Regions from separate parts of the Homo sapiens genome. Here all the other regions are linked to region 4. Evidence: promoter capture Hi-C in 16 types of primary human blood cells and fetal thymus (Javierre and others, 2016). All regions are on one chromosome and are shown on one strand. The core of a region is centred on a gene start or on the middle of the fragment in contact, and the rest is flanking DNA. Distances in the headings are between cores, read along the strand shown.

Region 1 (3,308 bases), core at 148-2,647, 120 kb after region 4:
CATAACATATCTGGGCCTCTGTGGCACTGTCAAACTGACACATCAAATTAACCATCACAGTGGCAATGCAATATTTTTAAATGAACAAAGAAGGCAGTAAATTATAATCATTAGAAATTTTAGTCCTTCCTGATATAGTTCTTGTTATTTAACTTAAAACAAGCCAGGATCATAAGAGGCAGCATAAACACACTAAGTTAACAGGTGTTGAAGAATCAAAGATTCATAAGGTGATGCAAAATGAAACTGCTATCTGAGTAGGATATATAAAAGATAAAGAATAATTCTTTATTCTTCGTGTGGAGCTCAGGCTTAGATCATTTTTAGTTATGATTCTTTTCTATTATAGTTAAGCTATTTTGTTTATTATCAATAAAGCAGTTTTTTGTGTGTGTGTCTGTGTGTGTATACAGTACTATATTACATGAGAACTTTTCACACAATAAACTTTAGTTTAAAATATATTGGCCAGGTGCTATGGCTCACAGCTATAATCCCAGCACTTTGGGAGGCCAACGTGGGAGAATCACTTAAGCCTATAGTTTGAAATCAGCCTAGGCAACAAAGTGAAGGTCCTATCTCTACAAAAAATCAAAACGTTAGCCAGACATAGTGGCACATGCTTATAGTCTCAGCTACTAGGGAGGCTAAGGCAGGACAATCACTTGAGCCCAGTAGGTTGAGGCTACAGTGAGCTGTGATTGTACCACTGCACTTAAGCCTGGGTGACAGAGAAAGATCCTGTCTCAAAATAAAATAAAATAAATTATAAAATTAAAAGCAACTATACATTAGAGCAAGGGACTAGGAGCAGGGTAGCACTTGACAGCCTGGGCTTGTCCTAGTGACCCTGCTTCCCACTCTCCCCAGACGAAGGCTCTGACCATTCCTTTCCTCCAAGAAAAAACTCCTGGCTCCTGAGCATGGCTACAGGACCTTGGGATTTGTTTTTAACTGTAAACCTCACGTTTTGGTCCTTGCAGCTTGCTAAAGACACCCCAGGGATAGGACAAAGCATCCAAGCGATAGAGCGCCAAGGCCAGGCCTTCATATCTAGGCCTATTTTTCAGAGAAAATAAAGTGGGAGCCTGTCTAGACCATCTTTATCTTTTAATTGGGATCTCAGATATATTTTTCCAAGCTTAATGTTATTTACCTGAACATTTGTGTACAAATGGCCTTTAATATATATCCAGATAGATGACCTATCCAGATATGGCCTTTTATATATCCAGATAGATAGATAGATATAAAATAAGCATCCTGTTATAAAACTGCCAACACAATGTGGCATCACCACAGCCTAGTATGACATTCCAGGGATGAGCAGCTTGTGTGAGGCAGTGCCTATCCAGTTAGCCACCCTGCTGAGGATGTACCTCAATTAGAACTTTTGTGTGTGTGACATTGCCTTCTAAAGACATTCTAGCAGTGTGGTGTTGGTGTATGGTGTGGGAAACACCAAAGACCTTTCCTACCAGAATAATTTGTAACCCTCCATGTGAGCACACAGTGTATTCACCATTTTTGTATTGCTCTAAAGAAATACCTGGGACTGAGTAATTCAGAAAAAAAAAAGAGGTTTAATTGGCTTATGGTTCTGCAGACTGTACAGAAAGCATAGCACCAGCACGTGCTTCTGGGGAGGCCTCAGGAAGCTTCCAATCATGACAGAAGGCAAATGGGGAGCAGGCACATCCCATGGTAGAGCACGAGAGAGAGACAGAGCTGTCAGGGGAGGTGCCACACATTTTTAAATGACCAGATCTCATGTGAACTCAGAGCGAGAGCTCACTTATCACCAAGGGGATGTCCCATCCCATTCATGAGGGATCCACCCCCATGATCCAAGCACCTCCAAATAGGCCCCACCTCCAACAATAGGGATTACAATTCAACATAAGATTTGGGCAGGGAAAAATATCCAAACTATATCACAAACCTAGGAGGCTCTCCCATTATCACGTTGGGAACCTGCATTTAAATTAGAAGATGAGAAGAAACATCTGGGGTTTGTACCCAATTCCCTTACACTGGCATTGAGAGAAAGCTAGTAATACATCTATTATCTTGTCACTACCCAAGAGATGGTACTCAGAAAACTGAACACTTGGGCACCAAACTTTGAGGAAATGATCACTTCATGTAAATGAGGTTATCCCAACAGAAAGATAATTTACATCTCCGAACATCAAACGGCTCTTTGGGGTTCCAGTTATATTCCCGCTGTGTAATATATGCTAATTCCTAGAGTGGAGGACCCATACTGGCAACAGCGGTGACCTGAGCCCTGGGGCCTGATGATCCGGCACCGTGGATATTTGCTTGCTCTGCTTTGAGGAAGAAGGTATCTGTGGTAGAACAAGATTCTGATTTATATCAAGCTATATTCCTAAGATCTCTCTCATTACTTATCCTTGGTCTCCTTTGGATCATCAGGTCCTCAACAAGAGGTGAAATTATTTGTAAAGAGACATTAAAGAGCTTATGTTACTTTTAAGTCACGTATGGTTCGTTTCTCACCCGGTTTAACCACTATGGGCAGTTCCATTTTACTGGCAACAGGGAAGTTTACTACCATAGAAAATTAGAGTTAGCAAAAGTATTCCTCCCACAGTTCTGTTTGCTGATTTTCTCAGAAACTGCCCTCTTACTGCCTACAGAATATAAAATCAGAAGGAACACCGTGGTTATTACCATGTAAATTCTTAAGACAGAGCCAGGCTCATTAATTTCCAGGAACACAACTAAAGCTACTGCGGTTGAAATATAGTAAAAATGAAAAATGCACAAATGAAGTCTGAAGGGTAAAGTGGGACCCAGATGCTGTAAAACTGCAGATCAGGTTGGAGTTTACTTTTATCCTCAGTGCTATGGCAAGCTATGGCAGAATTTCAGGTAAGAATGTGGCATCAGAGTTAGGTTTTTAAAAGACCACCCTGGCTATGTATGCATTATGGGAGGAAAAGGGAAGGAAGCACGACAATTGTCTAAGCAAAAGAGGATGGTGGTTTGGACTAGGGTAGTAGCAGTAGAGATGGACAGATGTAGGTGGAATCAGGCCATGGTTTAGAGGTAGAGTCTATACAATTCTTAATGAACTGGATATGTGGAGTGACAGAAAGTAAGAAATAACAGGTGCCCGAACGATAAAGTAGAAGGTGGCAGCAACTACTGAGATGATCAAGATCAGGGAGAAATAAATTTGACCATATAAATCAAGAGTTCTACCAGCTGCCACCCTGAAAATCAATTTCTGTTATTCTTCAAGTAGGGGCATTCATAAGTCAATATAATTTTATTAATCA
Region 2 (3,662 bases), core at 559-3,058, 96 kb after region 4:
ATTGAAGAGACATCTGCATTCCCACATTTATTGCAGCACTATTCACAATAGCCAAGATTTGGAAACAACCTAAGTGTCCATCAACAGGCCTTCTTATTCTTTAGTTATTTTTTGCCTGAAAAAAGTTAATTAAATCTTTTTTTCTGAAATGTGAATCTAATTCTCCTCCCACATCATTAGAGATATTGCTAAATTATCTTTCTTGACTGTATCTCTACCTTTTTCTCTTTTTCCAGGTTTTTTCCTCCAACATACCAATATTCTTACCAGTTTTTCTTTTTAAATGCCTTCTCTTTTGACCTTCTTGTTTCTCGTAGCTACTATCCTACATCATTCTCTTTAATGTCACACTACTTCCTACTTGCAAAAGTGGTCTACACTCTTAAGTCTCCAATTTCTAACCACTTTAAAACACTGCTGTAAAACAATTCTACTTCCATCTTTCTCGACTCTCAACATTACTTTTGTCAAGGTCATCAAAGTTTTTTTTGTTTGTTTTTTGTTTTTTTTTTTGAGACGGATTCTCACTCTGTTGCCCAGGCTGGAGTGCAGAGGCATGACCTCAGCTCATTGCAACCTCTCTCTCCTGGGTTCAAGCGATTCTCGTGTCTCAGCCTCCCAAGGAGCTGGGACTACAGGCATGTGTCACCACGTCCAGCTAATTTTTTGTATTTTTAGTGGAGATGGGGTTTCACCATGTTGGCCAAACTGGTCTTGAACTCCTGACTTCAGGTGATCTGCCCACTTTGGCCTCCCAAAATGCTAGGATTACAGGCATGAGCCACCACGCCTGGCCAAAGACCATTTTGTTGCCGGATTCAAAGAAAATTTTAAAATGTTTATGTTACTTAACTTCCCTGCTGCACTTGACTTTGCAGAACATCTCCTGGCATCACAAAATTTCCTCCTCAGTTGGCTTTTAAGGCTTGACTCCCAATAAGTGAAGGGTGATTACATAAATGTTGCTACATTATATACTAAAGTATATAATACAACCATTAAAGATATGAACAAAAGCACCAACTGCATTTGTGACCCTTTCCATGGGATAGTCACCTTGAAGTACAACTCCTTGGCCAAAGAATATGAACATTTTGAGGGCTCTTAACCCATATTGCCAAAATGTTTTCCAGAAAAGTTTCACTGTCTCATTATTCCACACCTACTACTCCTAGCCTGTCTCCAGTATCCACATGAGTATTGCAAGAATAAAATGTGAAATGCTTGGCATACAATTAAAGAAAAAAAAAAAGATTTGACTCCCTTGCGATTTTCCTCCTAACTTTCTTGCTCTTCCACTTTTTCCTCTTCAGTTGTCTCTTAAGTACTGGGGTTCTCTGCCAGGCTTGGTGGCTCACACCTGTAATCCCAGCACTTTGGGAGGCCAAGGCAGGTGGATCACTTAAGCCCAGAAGTTCGAGACCAGCCTGACACAGGGAACTCTATCTCTACTAAAAGTACACAGATTAGCTGGTGGCACACGCCTGTAATCCCAGCCACTCAGGAGGCTGAGGCAGGAGAATTGCTTAAACCCAGGAGGCGGAAGCTGCACTGAGCCAAGATCATGCCACTGCACTCCAGCCGGGGTGACAGAGCAAGTCTCAAAAAAAGAAAAAAAAAAGGTTTGGGGTTCTCAGACTTTTGCACAAGCCTCTCTTCTCACACTAATACTTATCCTAGCAGACATTACATAATCTCCATGGCATCAAGTAATGCCTATATGCCAGTGAGCTCCAAAATATATACCAAAAACTAAAATAAATGCTCTGAGCTCTAGATCATTTAAGCCAACTAGGGTCTTATATCTCCACTTGGATATGTGATAAGCATCTTAGATTCAAAACTAAATGAATGTGATCAAAACTAACTGCATAATTTCCTCCCAATACTTCCTTCATAGATTGTATTTTTGCCTTCTCCCAAACCAGAAACCTAAGAATCATTCTTATTTCATCCTTCTCCCTGACCCATACTGTCAGTTGTCAATTACTACAGTTTCTACCTTCTAAATTTATACCTGTTGTAACTCTCCGGCACTACCTTTATTCAGGTTCTTGTAACTGACCAGTTGGATCATTGTCAGTCTTCACTGTCTCCATTCTTGCTCCACTCAATACATTAATTAGATTTCTAATAGAATTATTTTCCTAAAATACAAATGTGATTATGCCACTCATATGCTATATCTTTCAATAACTCTCCACTGCTTTGAACATAAAATTCAAACCTCTTAACCTCATACACCAGTTTTTAATCCAGCCTCTCCCATTAATTGTAGTCTTATTACTGTCCAACTCATACCCAGTACCTCGGCCACACTCAACCATTTTTCCCTAACAAGGCATTCACTCCCTTTGCATATATGTTTCCCTCCAACTGACAAAAACTATTACCTTTCCTTGGTTACCTGAAAAATTCCTATTTATCCTTTCAGATATCTCATATACTATCACCTATTCTCTCCACCAGAGGTTGTGTCTTACAATTCCACCTTCCAATTTGGGTTAGATTTTTTTCCAATTTTTTGTATTCTTCTTATAATCAATTATAACAAATATAATTTTAAAATTACTGTCTCTGATATTGAACTAGGAATTCAATGAGGACAGAAATCATGTCTTATAAATCTTTCTTTCTGAGGGCCTATCACCAATGCCTTGTGATCAAGATAGAGATACATAGTTTAAATGAATGAAGAGCAAGTAGTTCAACACAGACATATTAAGAATATAGATGCATTATAAGGACATACAAGGAAATGGCCAAATCATCAAAAGCCTTGTATGTCAGATCAGGATTTTGAAAGTCATCAGAAGATTTTAATAGGAAATGATATAATTAAATGAACACATTTAAAAGCTCATCTTCTTGGTGAATAGACCATGGAAAGATAAAACTGGAGAAACCAAGAGGTTTTGAAATGGGATGAATAAACAATTATGAAAGCCAAGACAATGACTGTGAGGATAAAGAGTAGGAGGAAAATATAAAAGATACTTTGAGAGTGGATAGAACTAAATGGCCAATTTGATATTTGTTAATGAGGCATTGAAAACCAAAGTCATCTCCAAGACTTCTCCCTGAGTGACTAGGAAGATGAATTATTCATTTGTAAATCATTAAACCACATTAAGCATATGCTCTGAACCGGAAATATGCCAGATGCCAAGACCACGAGATAAACAAATAAAACACAGTCTCTGCCCTCCAAAATATAAAGGTGTAGTGGAAGAAATAAACATATGAACATGTAAAAGAATGTAATAAATGTTATTTAAAATCTATAGGCAACATCCTGTGGGAAAACAAAAATTAGCACTTAACTCTGTTTGGGAATTAGTAGTACATAAATGTACTCTTAGTGGAATCATCTCCAAAAACTGTGAGGTACAGTCAACTGAAATAGGAAATTCAGGAAGTGGAGCAGATTTTGAGGACAGAAGGGATACTATTTTCCATTTGAACCAGTTGAGACTGAGTGGTCTGTGGGTAATGCAGGTGACATTCGTCACAGAGTCAGGATCCAGAGTTCATGGAGAAGAGCTGGCCTAGAGACTTCTCACACCAGGATTACTACAATGGTCTTGTATTAGTTTCCTGTGGTTGTGGCAAATCAACACAAACTAGATGGCTTAGAACAACCCAAACTTATTCCCTCAGTG
Region 3 (3,186 bases), core at 414-2,913, 79 kb after region 4:
AATGATTATTTCAGCTTTTAGAAAGTCAATTCATTTAATGGGATTTATTTATCAAAAAGCCGTGTTGACTCATGCCCAATGGTTGTAAGATCACGTTCTTTCAAAACTCCATTTATGAGTAAAATTCAAATAGTCTTTTCTAAAGTTAATATTTAAGAATGCATTTACATTTGAAAAAATTGAAAAAATGAAGACAGCACTTTCATTTCAGTAAAATTTTAGGAAGATAAAGGTCTGTGGAAACAAAATTATTCAAAATGTCCAATTACCTCAGTTACACTATAAGGTTCTTAAACTAACCTGGGTTTTTATCTAACAAAACTCTGGTTTATACTAAGTATGTTTTAAAATTTTACTTAGAAGAGAATCAGTACATAATCCATATTCTTTAATATGGCCAGCTATGATAGGTTTCCCAGAATAGAGCCCTTAAATTCTATAATTTTTATTTTTGCATAGATTTTTAAAATTCATTTTTAAACAAATTATTATTTTTGTGTCCTATGTTTTTCTCTAAATACCTACTAAAGTAAATGCAATTTGCTATACTTGAATTTTTAATTACATAAAAAGAAGGTATTTTGATTACTTAATTTCAAAATTCAATCTCTGATTATCTACCTTCTACTATAGAAAGGCTTTAATACACACTCCCAAATACGGAAGAAAAAGTGATGCATTCCACGCTGGAATCTGTTTTACCTACCTAGAAAGTCTTTTGCTAAAGTACAATATTAAATAAGAATTTTCAAATCTTACTAAAAATTTTCCTTCCTAAAATAATATTTCTACTGTATTTTAGGAAGCGTTTTATATTTCAGCCCATAAAATTGTCAGTTTATGACATGATACAATTTAGGCTGAACAGTTAAAAGATTCTGAGAAGGAAACTTGAATTGCTCAGAGAAAGTGTAAAATCCCATGTGTTACTAAAATCAAGGGACTGTCATGATAAAAATTTTCTGAATGCCTTGCAAGTTGGATACTTCATTTAAAAACTCCCCACCCACAATGTTCTCTGAAGCATATCTTAAAGCCCCAACCAACCCTTCCATTCCTTAGCATAGAATACATGTTGGTTTCTTTTTTGCAACATGTGCTTTCTTTAAAGTCAAATATATGACACTGAATCTTGAAACATTACAGGAAAGCGATTTAGATTCTTCTGGTTACTGCAACATAGCAAAAAAAAAAAAAAAAAAATTAAAAATCCCCTGTCTCTACTGCTCATGTTCCCTCTTAAATAACAACTCTTTAAATAGAGATCCCTGTTAATATTTTATGAAATAATGAATTGTCTTTTCCATTCATATTTCTTTATATTTCACATCGTGTCTTATTTTTTCTCTGCTCCCAGATTTCTGATAATTCTAGAATCCGTGAGATGAGTCCAAGCAATACATTCAGTAACTAATCTAAGCATTTGCAGCCACTGAATGTATCACCTGGACTTATCTTTTGAGCGTATTTTAAATTGGGTAGAGAAGACTCTAAATAAAAGTCTTTCTCTTTCTAATATAATGCATTTGTAAAGAAGCATATTAGATCTGTTAAATAAATAAATATTTACTAATTAAGTTTGCTGTCAATGTTATAAGCAAATTACTTTACAAATGGCTGATCTGGAATTTCAGGAGCTCAATTGCTGAAGTAACTTATTTATTCAAATATTCTTAAACTGTTGTTGTATTACCACAGTGCAGTTCTATCCATGAAACTGAACAAGAAAATCAAATTCACCTGAATGCCTAAGAGAGCTCCTCATAAATCCGTAGTTCAGTTTTGATTTGTAGGAGAAAAAAGAAAAATAATGCAGATTGTTCCAACTATTCTCTACTCCCTAAATCTCAAGATTTCAAATTTTCACTAATATCAAATGCCACCTCACCACCACCAAACAGAATCTGTTTATTGAAGGAACAAGGCCAATTGGGTGGGTTTCAAAGAGATCATGTTCCAACAATTAGTTTCATTTTCAAAGTTTAACTCTTTCCTGAATACTGTTTAACTGGGAAAATGAACTGAAAGCCCATTGAAGATTTTATACCTTTCTACTTCCTGGCCATGAAATGTGGCCTTGGAGTCTTAGAGGTAGATAGTTATATTTTAGAGAACCTTGAAGCTGGTTTGTTGTAGTAAGAGAATTTACATATTTCTAGATGTTTAATTTTTGTCTACAACAAAAATTAAAGTTTAAAAATGTAACTAATAGGAATGAACATTGCTTTGACTATTGAATTAAAGAGTAAAGAAAAATGGGTATTATATCATTAAAATAGAACAGAATCAAATGGTTCATTTTAGCACTTCAGAAAGGTTGTATCATCAGTGTGTTTTTGGGCCATTTTTTCCATTTATTATAAACTCATGATTGCTAACGGAATTCAATAAAGTACTTAAATTGCACAATAAAATATTCCCATGCCACTGAAACTCCTTAGCTATTAATTCAATAATTTTTTGTAACTTTTGTGAAACATTTTACCTAATATTTTATGTATGTAAGTGTAAGCTAAAAGTTTCTTCACTGTTTTCACATGATCAATGGCTTATTTGACAGGCATTTTCTCTTTAAAAAAAAAAAAAGAAAAGAAAAAAAGATATTTCCCCTAGGCTGGTGCAGTGGCTCAAACCTGTAATCCCAGCACTTTGGGAGACCAAGGCGGGTGGATCGCTGAGCCCAAGAGTTCAAGACCAGCCTGGTCAACATACGCAGACCTTGTCTCTACAGATAATTTAAAAATTAGTCAGGCGTGGTGGTGCACATCTGTAGTCCCAGCTACTTGGGAGGATGAGGTGGGAGAATCACTTGAGCCTGCAGTGAGACATGACCATGCCACTGCACTCCAGCCTGGGTGACAGAGTGAGACCCTGTCTCAAAAAAAAAAAAAAAAAAATATATATATATATATATATACAGTAAACTTGCAAACACAAATGGCCTCCTTGATTCTAGTTACTTTGCACACTTTGTAAAAATTTAAAGTAATAACGAGCACAGCTTCTCACACTCCCTGCTCTATAACTCTTTCCTCATTACCCATCTCTAAATTCTTCTAACTGTGGTACAGTTCATTGAAAAACAAAGCACTGAGTGAGCTAACATTGAAATTGTAAGAATAGTGGCTATTACTGCATAACAACAAGCAGAAGAGCAACATCTATTCTTTCTTGCTGCTGGAAACC
Region 4 (3,273 bases), core at 90-2,589:
TACTTTCTTTCATTGTAACCTGCTCGGTTTATTACTAACAGGTTTACCAGTATCATTAGAATCTCAGTCACTTAAAGGTAAATAATGGTATCTGGAAGCAGTAGAATATATTAATTAAGAGAAGCAGATTTGGAACAAAATAAACTTGGATTTGACTCCCGAAACATCCACTTACTTAATAATTGTTTATGTGCAGAGGGGGCCAGGTAGGTTCATGTCTCTGAACTCTAGCCTCTGTATCTATAAAATATACCCGATCATACCTTCTTCTGAGTGTTTTTTTTTTTTTAGGATTAAAATGAAATAGTACATAGTAAGACCTTGACATAGTACTTGAAGCATGTTAAAATGATATTGTCTTATCCCATTTTGCCCAACATGTAGCCACCTAGCTACTACATCGTAAGTATTTAGAAAGTACATACATTTGTTACCAGTGCCCCATGATAGCAGTGCCTGATGAAGTCATAATGCAATGGAGAGCAAATAGAACAAGTGGAGTCTTCTGAATCCTAATGCACTTTACTGATTCTAGAAAGAATAAATGAGAGGCTATGCAAAATCTCAAGCTCAGCTAAGGAATATATTTTGTTGAAGGTTTGTGCTTCCATTTTATGGTGATTGGAAAGGGACTGAGCTAGAAAGAAACTGAGCTAGAAAGGAGCTCAGTTCCTCTCCAATCATCACAAAAATTTACATTCCATAGTATGCAACATCTTGTCAGGAAAAACAAATATAATCCTTCACATGCAATCTTTGCTCACAATTATGAGATACTGTCTTTATGGGTCTAAATCAGAAATACTGTCTTCTTACAGACTCTTGATGTGATCTGTGCTCATCCTTAATCCTTGGTAAAGTTCCAAAATGGCTCTGGATCCTACTGACATCTGTTACTAAGGATAATGCATGAAGGAGATGAAGATATCTGTTCTCAATAAACAGAGAAAACATTACTAAAGAAAATGTAGATCAATTTCAGATCTCCTTATCCATAGATAAGGAAATGCAAGTTATTAGAGACCTATGAAAAATTGCTGTTCAGACATAAAGATGCATCTTTTTATTTCAGATCTTTACCACTTAAGTTTAGCCTAGTATTTTTTAAGGCCAATGAAACAGTTGGTGAAAAAGAATAAATGCATTTGTGATCTCCAGTGTGTTCTCTCCATTCTAGCAAAAAAAAAAAAATTCCAAAAACACTTGTTCATACAGCTACAAGTTTGAGGCTTTTCATAGGAAATAAGATTTGAGGTCTAGACTAATTGATTTTATAGCTTCACAACTGAATTTTGTAATGTAGCCACAGGTCCATACACAGCAGAAGCTTAGATTAATCCTTTCCAAAAATAAAAGGAAAAAATCCATGTGAATCACTTCTAAATGCCTCTGTATTGCAAATGAATGATGTTTGGGTGTGCATTTATACTACTTGTCTAAGATAAGACCTATTTAACAAGATATAGTTTATACCTCATTAAAGCAACATCTACTTCTCTTGCTTGGTTACTGGTCTTTCACAGCCAGTCCAATTGGCCAATATAAAATACACTTCCATTCTGAAACCTAAGTTCCACAAGAGAAAGAACATTTTTCTTTTTAAGTAGATGTATTTCATTATCTTTAAGAGTTTATATTATATACATGACATTACCCCCATTTAATTTTTGTGCTGGTCAGGGATTATTCAGTGATGAAAAAAGTTTTCCCAAATGAGGGCAAATAAAAACATTTTTGCTGGAAGACTATAAAGGACAACTTCATAGACATTCAAAAGTGAAAAATAAAATACACCCAGACCTCTTATAAATATATTGGGAACTGGAAAATCAGAAACTGAGATCATCTCTCTTAATTCACATGATTTCTCATCTCCTTCTCACTAGTACACTTTACCTCCTGATTTCTGGTCCAATCCATTGAACCCATTTTTTTCACTCAATGTGAGTAAATGTCATATAAAAGGTTGCAGGAAGATGCTGCTTCAGGCCATTTTCTCTAAAAGAGACTTGTAAGTACAGAGGTCATTGAAGTTTCATGAACTTCTTTATCCTTTTTGATCAAGTAGCAGATTACCTCTAACTAGTCCACAGCTTCCACATGGAAGATGGACAAACATATAGAAATGGGGAAGAAAGAAGAACCAACACACTTGTCAGCAAATTCAACCTAAGTCAGCCTCTTTTCAATGGGCTCATGGGAAATGAAGCATTTCCTGGGACACAGAGGAGGGAGAGAAAAATCTCCCATTATTGGGGATTGAACCATAAGAAAATGTTGTTTCATGGCCCCAAATGGCCAAATACCAACATATTATGTGATCCAACTAAATCACAATGGTATAATCAAACAAGTTATTCTGATTATTACCAATAGAGACACTAAAATTTTGGCTGTGTATTAAACCCTCTTGCTTTTCACATCTTCTCAATGTATTTATTTTATAGCACATCTGGAACAATCCTTTTATTTATTAATGAAGATCGTCTCAATTGCCAAAGTCTATATTTTTCTTCCACTTAATGAAAAATATCCAAAGTTGCTGGTTATGGGCCCATCAGAGATTATTTTCTCTTAATCATATTTCATTTAAAAAAAACTAGTCAGTTCATTTTTCTAAAAAAAAAATGCATGTTCAGAAAAAAATACAATCACTGAAAGCCCAAATTTCCAGTACAATTTAATAACAAAAAAGGACGGAGTGGAGTAGGATAGTCACATGGTTCCTGTTATCCACCCCCAAGCTTAAGAAACAGGGAGGTCTAAAATGTAGTGTGGAAGAGTAAAAACAGCATGACCTGCTTTCAGTTCCAAGTTCTTCCTTCTACTGATTGTGCAGTCTTGGGCATGCTGATGAATCAAATCAACCTCTCTGGCTGCACATGGAAATTGAGGAATGAAAATACTTCTGAGGTAGGGTTGATGTGAGCATTGGTTGAGACAATGCCTTCATTTGTTGAGTTTCTGTTATGTGCCAGCACTTTACTACAACAGAGATGCAATAGTGAAGGAAAAGAGAAACACAAGCCCTTTAAGACTTCTTGGCATTTCTGATCTGACAGGTGGACACAGACAATAATCAAAGGATTATATGAATAAATCCCAATTATGGTAAATTCTCTGAAAGAGAATAGTGTCCTGAGAATGAGGGGTGGGAGGGAGAGGGGCAAGTAAACAGAACAGATTGTATGGCCAGAAAGCATATGATTGGACCAAGGAGAACACAAAAGACCTGTGTAGCTAAATGAGGAGAAGCTAGATGTGAAATGGGGC

Evidence for each region. The method cuts DNA at HindIII sites, captures the fragments that hold promoters and counts their contacts. A CHiCAGO score of 5 or more calls a contact.
Region 1: a contact is called between a fragment that was not itself captured here and the fragment with the promoter of LINC00158 in region 4, in 2 of 17 cell types (activated CD4 T cells and M1 macrophages). The highest score is 11.7, in activated CD4 T cells.
Region 2: a fragment that was not itself captured here is called in contact with the fragment with the promoter of LINC00158 in region 4 in 1 of 17 cell types (activated CD4 T cells); the score reaches 6.4 in activated CD4 T cells.
Region 3: a fragment that was not itself captured here is called in contact with the fragment with the promoter of LINC00158 in region 4 in 1 of 17 cell types (activated CD4 T cells); the score reaches 5.6 in activated CD4 T cells.

Annotation. Positions count from the first base shown.
Region 1 is chr21:25,548,243-25,551,550 of GRCh38, forward strand. No RefSeq gene overlaps it. Among named protein-coding and RNA genes, the nearest start is that of MIR155HG, 12 kb to the right of the region's middle. The HindIII fragment of the contact is 517 bases long and covers 1,140-1,656 here.
Region 2 is chr21:25,525,587-25,529,248 of GRCh38, forward strand. No RefSeq gene overlaps it. Among named protein-coding and RNA genes, the nearest start is that of MIR155HG, 35 kb to the right of the region's middle. The HindIII fragment of the contact is 4,628 bases long and covers 1-3,662 here.
Region 3 is chr21:25,509,063-25,512,248 of GRCh38, forward strand. The region is part of intron 4 of LOC105372753 (a long non-coding RNA gene); the gene reads right to left. Among named protein-coding and RNA genes, the nearest start is that of MIR155HG, 51 kb to the right of the region's middle. The HindIII fragment of the contact is 4,446 bases long and covers 1-3,186 here.
Region 4 is chr21:25,430,362-25,433,634 of GRCh38, forward strand. It overlaps LINC00158 (long intergenic non-protein coding RNA 158), which reads right to left and starts at 1,340. Exons shown (of 5, transcript NR_024027.2): 1 at 817-1,340. The HindIII fragment of the contact is 1,417 bases long and covers 1,326-2,742 here.